Linked DNA regions of Homo sapiens: all the other regions are linked to region 1. Evidence: promoter capture Hi-C in 16 types of primary human blood cells and fetal thymus (Javierre and others, 2016). All regions are on one chromosome and are shown on one strand. The core of a region is centred on a gene start or on the middle of the fragment in contact, and the rest is flanking DNA. Distances in the headings are between cores, read along the strand shown.

What was found. The method cuts DNA at HindIII sites, captures the fragments that hold promoters and counts their contacts. A CHiCAGO score of 5 or more calls a contact.
Region 2: a fragment that was not itself captured here is called in contact with the fragment with the promoter of SPTLC2 in region 1 in 1 of 17 cell types (neutrophils); the score reaches 6.1 in neutrophils.
Region 3: a fragment that was not itself captured here is called in contact with the fragment with the promoter of SPTLC2 in region 1 in 2 of 17 cell types (total CD8 T cells and naive CD8 T cells); the score reaches 6.1 in total CD8 T cells.

What each region holds. Positions count from the first base shown.
Region 1 is chr14:77,614,959-77,618,170 of GRCh38, reverse strand. SPTLC2 (serine palmitoyltransferase long chain base subunit 2) reads left to right here and starts at 1,534. Exons shown (of 12, transcript NM_004863.4): 1 at 1,534-1,723. The coding sequence starts at 1,592. RefSeq lists silencers at 1,108-1,167, 1,498-1,547, 1,688-1,887 and enhancers at 1,207-1,739, 2,068-2,277. The HindIII fragment of the contact is 6,254 bases long and covers 1-3,212 here.
Region 2 is chr14:77,428,865-77,432,076 of GRCh38, reverse strand. It overlaps VIPAS39 (VPS33B interacting protein, apical-basolateral polarity regulator, spe-39 homolog), which reads left to right. Exons shown (of 20, transcript NM_001193315.2): 17 at 2,310-2,396; 18 at 2,982-3,071. Among named protein-coding and RNA genes, the nearest start is that of NOXRED1, 6.9 kb to the right of the region's middle. The HindIII fragment of the contact is 6,466 bases long and covers 1-3,212 here.
Region 3 is chr14:77,765,722-77,768,933 of GRCh38, reverse strand. All of the region lies in intron 1 of SLIRP-OT1 (SLIRP overlapping transcript 1), which reads right to left. Among named protein-coding and RNA genes, the nearest start is that of SNW1, 6.2 kb to the right of the region's middle. The HindIII fragment of the contact is 2,692 bases long and covers 186-2,877 here.

The DNA.
Region 1 (3,212 bases), core at 285-2,784:
CTTTCTATGTGTATATCTTGTCTCTCACTGAAATGTAAGCTCCATGAAGCACAGCCACATGTTTCCTTTTTAGCCTTATACATACAGATGTATATTCACTTTGGGATCAATAGTGTTTGTCAACTCAAATAGGATGTGTGGGATGAATGATCCCACCTTCTGTTAGATTATTCAGCTCCTAAGTCATGCAAAACCAATACCTTGTGGACCTCCTTTCTAAAGCTCCTGCAGGGTGGGGAAAGAATGCACGGATTCTCATAGGTGCATTTAGCAATTACTAGTAACCAACACTTAATGAATGCTTACTAATTGCTAGGTCCTGTACAAAATACATTACATACATAAACTTATTCAATCTTCACGACAACTATTATTGTCCCCACTGAACAGATGAAGACACATAGAGGTCACTCAGCTAGTAAGTGGCGCAGCTAGGATTTAAAACCCAGACCGACTCCAGAGTCCATACTCTCAATTATGATACTAAATTCTTTATGGATAACAGAAAGTCTCTAATTGTAATGTAGATCAATTTCCTTGCTTTCTAACCCCATGGGAAGATGGAACTAAAAGGGTGAGAAAATAATATTTATTATACTCCTACTATAAGCCTAGTATTATAAGAGGTGCATAATGGGTTAATGATATAATTCTTGCTGTAAGTCTATGAAGCAGGAAGTATTAACTCCATTTTAAAGAATTTGGCTTCTAAAGTGGTTAAACACAGTGCTCAAGTTTTAGCTTCCAGTTATTGGCAGAGTTGGAATTAGACCAGGTTTTCTAACTTTGAAGGAAAGACTTAATTTAAAGGAGACTGTATAGAAAACCCTGCCAAGGGCAAATGTGAAGGGCACGTGAAAAGGCATCTGAATTATTACTTATAATAATTCAGAAATAGTGAATGTGTGGCGCATATTGAAGAATGATGAGAGATTGTCAAAAAATCTATTCTATAAACACTCACAGAGGAATCAGCTAATTAAATAAGCGAGCTGCCTGTCTTGGGCTAGGACATAAACTCCAAAACTTCCCACGAGGCAAGGGCAAAGAGGGCGCCACCTGTCCTGGAGAACCTGGGAACCCGCTCTAGAGACTTCGGCTCAGCCCCTTTTATTTCCTCACACTCTAATTGGCTACTTTTCCCTGGGCTCCGCCTCCTCCTCGGTCTGGACCATTAAACAGGCAAGCCCTACCCCGGACCTGGATGCGGCCTCCAATCAGGTGCCAGGCCCTGGAGTCCCTCTAGAGAAGCCCCCTCTCCACCGGCGAGGCGCTTTGCTCTCGTCCGTGATTGGCCAGGCAGCAGCATGGGGTCCGCCTCCTTCTCTTCCAGATTGGTCAGCGGTCCTCAGGACCACATCCCTCTCGGCAGGTCCCCGCCGCTTTTTCCCTTCGCTGCGTGGCCTTGGCCGAGACCGGTCCTCTGCGGAGAGGGCCCCGCCCTCTGTGAAGGCCCGCCCGGGAATTGGCGGCGGCGCTGCAGCCATTTCCGGTTTCGGGGAGGTGGGTGGGGTGCGGAGCGGGACTTGGAGCAGCCGCCGCCGCTGCCACCGCCTACAGAGCCTGCCTTGCGCCTGGTGCTGCCAGGAAGATGCGGCCGGAGCCCGGAGGCTGCTGCTGCCGCCGCACGGTGCGGGCGAATGGCTGCGTGGCGAACGGGGAAGTACGGAACGGGTACGTGAGGAGCAGCGCTGCAGCCGCAGCCGCAGCCGCCGCCGGCCAGGTACGAGGGGCCCGCGCGGCGGGGCCGGGGTGGCGGTGTGGACTGGCGGAGGGGCGGCCGGGCGGGGCGAGGTCTCCGGGCCATCCGCTGGGCAATCCGCGGGGCGGGCGCCGTTCGCAGGTGTGGGCGGCAGTGTCCGGCCGCTGGCCCGACCTCCACGAGCCTGGAGGCTCAAGGACGGCTCGGGGGCTCCCCACCTCTCCGCGCCTGGAGGTCTTACTCCCGGAGCTCTGGGTTCTGCTCAGAGCTCCGGGTACTTTTCTCTGCCCCATTCTGCCAGAAGTGTGTGCTGTCCCCAGGGGAAGCGATGAGGGGCCCTTCGGACTCCAGTGGGAGCCGCCCAAGGGCTCCGGAGGGTCCCTTCTCAAACCCCTGAGGTTATTGCTTCCTTTTAAAGTCCTGCAGTCGTCCAAAGAAAACCACCCATGGGGTCCTTAAGAAGCAAAGAAAATTAGGCGGTGGTGTCAGATGGAAACACACCCAGCCTCTCCCAACCACATTCTGGACTACCACGTTCAGTCCCCAACCAGGACATTGGTCCATAGATCTGGCAGGGAATCCAAGCTGGTCCCTCGAAAGCATCATTCTCTTAACTCTGCCGGTGGTGAGACTCTACCCCAGGCTCCAGGTTGGATTAGGTGGCCCCTTCGACCCTTTCCTGAACACGAGTGCTATCACACAAGGGGATTGTTTAGCCTGGTGGTGACTTGCGATGACTCTATACTAATTAACCATGCTGAATCATCAACCAAGTTCAGGCAGTTCTAAAATATTTTGAAAAGTTCTAAATTCAAGACAATGCTTATTATCAACCTTACAGTGGTCTGGACTGACAGATATTCTGTTGAAATGTGTTTTTAAAGATGAGCTGGTTAAAAAGATGCAAGATCGGTGTTCCTGGAAGAGAGTGTTGCGATAATTTTGCAGTTGACTTTAATACGTTTAAGTCTTGTACAGATATTAAGGAACGCTTAGAAAGTACTCTGTTTCCCTTTAGCGGGAGTGTGACTGTTGCAGTTTGATAGGATGGTGATCTTAATTTGGCTTTAACATAACTACTCCCCAGATGAGTAGTTATGATGGATAGGTCTGTTACTGTTTGCTGCGAAGCAGAAAATAAAGCATTTTTCCAGGTCATGTTGAGATATTGAGACTGAGTTGAGGGGAAAAATAAGTAAAGCAGACTTGACCTCCCCTGAAGTTGTAAGGTGTCAAAGCGAAGTAATACACAGATCAAAAGATTTGTTTTCACTTTTAAAGAAATAATTGTGTGAGGGAGGAAGTGATAACAGTCAGCTCATTATAAGCAGTGGAATAGTTTGTCGTTTTCCTAGCAATGTAAACGACTTATAAGACAAAATTGTTGTGGTATAGAATGTAATAGGGAAATTTAACGGGTAGGAGTTAGAAAATACATTTGCAGGTGAATTTCATTGAGGTATGATTTTTTTTTTGTTTTTGTTTTTGTTTTTTTTTTTCAGACAGTTTT
Region 2 (3,212 bases), core at 179-2,678, 190 kb after region 1:
ATTACAGTACAGTACTATTAACTACAGTCCTCATCTTGTAATTAGATCTCTAAAGCTAATATTCCAGCATGTATGTATATATATACCATAGTTCCATAGTTTCTGTATCCATTTGTTTGTCAATGGACACTTAAGTTGTTTCCTTATCTTGGCTATTTTTTAGGGAGAGGGAATTATTTATTTGTTTATTATTTTTGTAAGTTACAGATATTTAAATTCTCAGCAATAATTTATAATAGTTACATTTCATGAATAGTTAACATCTCATGAATAGTGTTACAATGAATGTGGAAATGCAAGTATCTTTATGAGGTGATGATTTCATTTATTTTGGGCATATACCCAAAAGAAAGATTGATTACTGGGTCATATGATAGTTCTATTTTTATTTTTATTTTTACTTTTTTGAGAGAGGGTCTCACTCTGTCACCCAGGCTGAAGTGCAGTGGCATGACCGTAGCTCACTGCAGCCTGTTTTCCACATTGGCTACACCAATCTACATTCCCACCGACAGGGTACAAGAGTTCCCTTTCCCCACACCCTTGCTAACACATCATTTGTCTTTTTGATAACAGTCATCTTAACAGGTGTGAGGTGATATCTTATTATAGTTTTGATTTGCATTTCCCTGATGTTTAGTGATACTGATCACCTTTTCATGTACTTCTTGGCCATTTCCATGTCTTCTTTGGAGAAATGTCCATTCAAGTCTTTTGCCCATTTTTAAATCTGGCAATTTTTGTTTCTGCTATTGCATTGTGTGAGTTCTTTATATGTTTTAGATACTAATCCCTTATCAGATATGTGGTTTACAAATATTCTAATCCATAGGCTGCCTTTCATTTTGATTGTTTCCTTTGCCATGCGCAGCTTTTTAGTTTGATGTAATCCCATTTATTTTTGCTTTTGTAGCCTGAGCCTTTGGTGTGATATCCAAAAAAATCATTGCCAAGGCCAATGTCAAGGAGCTTTTTCCCATGTTTTCTTCTATGAGTTTTATGGCTTCAGGTCTTATGCTTAGGTATATTATCCATTTTGAGTTGATTTTTGTGTATGGTGTAAGATAAAGGTCTAATTTCATTCTTTTGCATGTGGAAATCCAGTTTTCCCAGCACCACTCATTGAAGAGACTATCCTTTCCCCATTGGGTCCTCTTGGTGCTTTTGTTGAAAATTAGCTGACCATATATGCTTGGGTTTATTTCTAGGCTCTCTATTCTATTCCACTGGTCTATGTGTTTGTTTTTATGCCAGCCCCGTACTGTTTTGATTAATATATGTAACTTTGTAATATAATTTGAAATCATGAAGCATGTTGCCTCCTACCCCTACCCCCCCTTTTTTTTTTTTTTTCTTTTTTGAGACAGAGTCTTGCTCTGTCACCCAGGCTGGAGTGCAGTGGTGCAATCTCAGCTCACTGCAACCTCTGCCTCCAGGGTTCCACTGAATCTCCTGCCTCAACCTCCCGAGTAGCTGGGATTAAAGGCATGCGCCACCCTGCCCGGCTAATTTTTGTATTTTTAGTAAAGATGGGGTTTCACCATGTTGGCCAGGCTGGTCTCGAACTCCTGGCCTCAAGTGATCCGCCCACCTCGGCCTCCAAAAGTGCTGGGATTACAGACATGAGCCACCGCACCTGGCCTCCATTTTGTTTTTCTTTAACATTGATTGCTTTGGCTATGTGGGATCTTTGGCGGTTCAATATGAATTAGTTTACGTTTTAAATATCTGTTTTTCCATTATGGGTTTAAAAATTTTCTGTTTTTCCTATTTGTTAATTATTTAATTAGTTATATTAACAAAGCAATATGTGTCTGTTGTCAAAATCAAACACTGTATTAAAGTATAGAAAGAGTGAAGTTCCTTTTTCATTTTCTACCTACTCCTATCTCACCCCCTTTCTCAAGGCAAACACTGTTAAAAGTTTAATGGGTAGCTTTCCAGACCTTCCCTCATGAATTTGCAAATAAACATCTGTACTTACAAAGATATGGAAGATGGAATTATTTTCTACATTGATAAGTTCATACTACAAATATTAAGTAAGTTACTTATCCCATTTAGTAGTATTTCAAGACTTTTCCCTGCATTCGTTTCTATAGATCTAAGAAGTTATTTCAAACCTGATTCATTTCCACTCTCTCAAATCCCTTGATTTTTCTGAAAAATTCATTTCTCATTATTTCTGTATCCCTCAGCACCCCCACTCACCCACCACATTATTCTGGTCTGATCGTAAAACATAGACTAACCTAGAATGTGTTGAGTGTGCCTGGCCTACCTGCCGCTACCCCATCTTCCTCTTTCAGAACTGGCTGGGCTATACCAAGAAGAGAGCACCCATTGGCTTCCATCGGGTTGTCGAAATTTTGCACAAGAACAATGCCCCTGTGCAGGTAATGGGTCCTGAAGAGAGTTGGGTACAGGATATTCTTGGAGACCTAACTTTAAGCCTCTTACTGGTCAGTGATGGGAGACCCGATCTGCTCTTGTTTTCCCTTAAAGGCAGCACAATGGCTGCAATAGGCCTCAAGACAGAAAAGGCCAGGGAGTGAAATTCTCTCCCTTTCTCCCCTTTAGAAACAATTCCAAACTGTCCTCTCTGAGTAGCATCTACTGTGTTAGCCCAAGTGGAATACTGATGTACTGTTCAAATGATAGAAAAGGAGAACTCGTGGAGAAAAGACATCAGGGAGAAATGAGCAGAGCACTGGATCACAGCTAGAGCACTCATTGCTGGCATGTGTATCTGGCTCGAGGATCAGGAGAAGTGTGCTCTTTCCTGCTTACTGAGGCAGCATGGAAGTACTGTGTAGCGTTACCTCATTCCCATTGCAGAACTAGTCCTGTGGTTGATGATGGAAACTGGAAACATTAGCTATTGAACTCTTTTGCCTTCTTCAGGACTTTCTTTTCTACCTTGTAGAGCTCTGTGCCTTATGGGTGTTTGAATCATTAATCGGAAGTACCTCTTCCCACAGATATTACAGGAGTATGTCAATCTGGTGGAAGATGTGGACACGAAGTTGAACTTAGCCACTAAGTTCAAGTGCCATGATGTCGTCATTGATGTGAGTCCCCAAGAAATGGGAGTCCTCCGTTAGATCCTCAGTGGCGAAGCAGGGTGGGGATTATAATATTCTCTGTCCAAGATCCTGAGGTGCTCCCACCAGGTTTGACTGAATGGACAGAATAATCTGGCAAGAGTTTGT
Region 3 (3,212 bases), core at 282-2,781, 150 kb before region 1:
GGAGAAGAGAGGGAAGAAATGTAGGCAGTCACTTCAGCTATCAGATGGCTGCCTTCTGGGCCAACAGCACATTTGATAGGAATGAAAATGATCAAAACAAATGACAGGGCTCAGGGCAAGGGGCAAACTGTTCCCCTGCCAGGCTGTTTGATAGAAAAAGGAATGGTTTTCTTAGTTCTAAAGCTTCAACCACACTGGATCCTTGTGTTTTCACAACCCTTAAGGTTAGAGCCAACTTTCAAAAAGAATAATTAAATCGGGAAAGAAGTGGGGTCAGCAGGTTTCGTAGTGCTTTTAAACAGGAAGTCTCAGAACTCATGGAGGGAAGTAGCTGACAGCAAAACTGCTTTCCTACTCATCAACCCAAAGAACTGCTTAATTCCAGAAGAAGATAGAGGAGCACATCTCACCAAAGACAAGTTGACCCTAACTCTTAAATCATCTACAGCCAAAAAACTGATTCTGTACCTGGTTGATCATGCCTGTAAAAAATAAAAAATAAAAATTAAAAAAATTGATTCTGCCTATAAAATGACTGACATGTTTCAGAACATTTTTGACTTACTTAATAAAAATTACTGTTCTATTTAGTAATCATATAAAAACAGAGATTGCATTCATGATTTTAAAAATGAAATACCAAAATTAATATCCTGAAAGATGTGTACAATCTATATAAAGACAACTTCAAAATGTTATTGAAAGATATGAAGGAAGATTTTAATAAGTTAAAATCTAAACAGTGTTCCTGGCCAAAAGCAGTGGCTCACGCCTGTAATCCCAACAGTTTGGGAGCCCAAGGCAGGCAGATCACTTGAGTTCAGGGGTTCGAGACCAGCCTGGCCAACATGGCGAAACCCCGTCTCTACTAAAAATACAAAAATTAGCCAGGTGTGATGGTGCATGCCCGTAATCTCAGCTACTCAGGAGGCTGAGGCAGGAGAATCTCTTGAACCCAGGAGGCAGAGGTTGTAGGGAGCCAAGATCGTCCACTGCACTCCAGCCCAGGCAACAGAGCAAGACTCCAACTCAAAAACCAAAACCAAAACCAGTGTTCTTGAGTGAGAAGACATAAAATTGTAAAGATATTGGCTCTCTCAAAATTAATTTATGGACAATTCAACGCCAATCAAAATGCCTACAGATATTTTTCAATAGAATGCACAAAATAATTCTAAATTTCATTTGGAAAAAAATGAAGAGATACTATATTATACTTTTTATTCACTTATTCATTTTATTACTTTTGCATTTTACTTAACTTTGCTTCTACAGCTTTATTGAAATGTAGTTCACGCACCATAAAATCACCTTATTAAAGTATGCAGATTAGAGGCGTTTAGTATATTCAAAGTTGAACAACCGTCACCACTAATTTTTCAACCCTCCCCCAAAAGAAACTCATACCCATTAACAATTATTGACCTTTCCTAACACCCCCACAGGATTTGTTTATTCTGAACATTTTATATAAAGGTAATAATACAATATCTGGTCTTTTGTGACAGGCTTCTTTCATTTAGCATAATGTTTTCAAGGCTTCTGTAGTAACAAATTTAACCTTGTCCAAAGAGAGATCTGGCTTTTGTCCTTAGCTTCTTGGAAGTAATCTCTAAACTCCTGAAATGTCATGCCTAATAGGAATGTCTTTGTTTGCCTGAAGGTCTTGGGACTTTTCACTTTCTTTCTTTTTTTTTTTTTTTTTTTTTAGACGGAGTCTCGCTCTGTTGCCCAGGCTGGAGTGCAGTGGCACAATCTTGGCTCACTACAAGTTCTGCCTCCTGGGTTCACGCCACTCTCCTGCCTCAGCCTTCTGAGTAGCTGGGACTACAGGTGCCCGCCACTACACCCGGCTAATTTTTGTATTTTTAGTAGAGATGGGGTTTCACCATGTTAGCCAGGATCGTCTCGATCTCCTGACCTCGTGATCCGCCTGCCTCGGCCTCCCAAAGTGCTGGGATTACAGGCGTGAGCCACCATGCCCGGCCCTTCACTTTCTTGATGATGTCCTTTGAAGCACAAAACCTTAACTTTTGATTTAGTCCAATTTTTCTATTTTTTCCTTTGTTGTTTATGCTTTTTGTATCTTATCTAAGAATTCTTTGCCAAATCCAAGATCATGAAGATTGACCCCTGTGTTTTCTTCTAAGAGTTTTATAGTTTTAGTTTTCACATTTAGGTCTTTGAGTTATTTTGAGTTAATTTTTGTATAGGGCGTGAAGCAAGGGTCCAACTGCATTCTTTTGCATTTAGACATACAGTTTCCCAGCACCATTTGTTGAAAAAACTATGTCAATAATAGTTTTAGATGGTCTTGGTACCCTTGTCAAAAATCAGTTCACCATAAACATATGGGTTTATTTCAGGACTCTCAATTTTATTCCATTGATCTATGAATCTATCCTTATGCCAGTACCACACTGTCTTGATTACTGCAGCTTTGTAGTAGGTTTCTGAAATTGGGAAATGTGAGTTCTACAACTTTCCTCTTCTTAAATTTTTATTATAAAAATTTTCAGGGCTGGGTGCAGTGGCTTACATCACTTTGGGATGCCAGGCAGGAGGATCACTTCAGTCCGGGAGTTCAAGACCAGCCTGGGCAACATAGTGAGACCCTGTCTCTACAAAAAATAAATTAGCCAGGCCTGGTGGCACATGCCTGTAGTCCTAGCTACTTGGGAGGCTGAGGTAGGAGTATCGCTTGAGCCTGGGAGATTCGGGCTGTAGTGAGCCGTGATCATACCACTGAACTCCAGCTTGAGCAACAGAGTGAGACCCTGTCTCAAAAAAAAAAAAGAGATAATTTTCATATATATATAAAAGTTGAAACAATAGTTCAATAAACACCTATACAGTCCACACTCCCCCATCTAAGCTTAAATAATTGTTAACATTTTGCTTTCCCTTTCATGCTCTCTCACACTCTCTCACTATAAACACACACACACACACATTTTTTGTTGTTGAGATAAACTATTTGAAAGTAAATTGAGGCTGGGCATAGTGGCTCAGGCCTATAATCCCAGCACTTTGGGAGGCCAGGTGGATGGAGCACCTGAGGTCAGGAGTTCGAGACCAGCCTGGCCAACATGGTAAAACCTCGTCTGTACTAAAAACGCAAAAATTAGCTGGGCATGGTGGCAGGCGCCCATAATCCCAGCTACTTGGGAGACTGAGGCAGGAGAATCACTTGAACCCGGGAGGCAGAGATT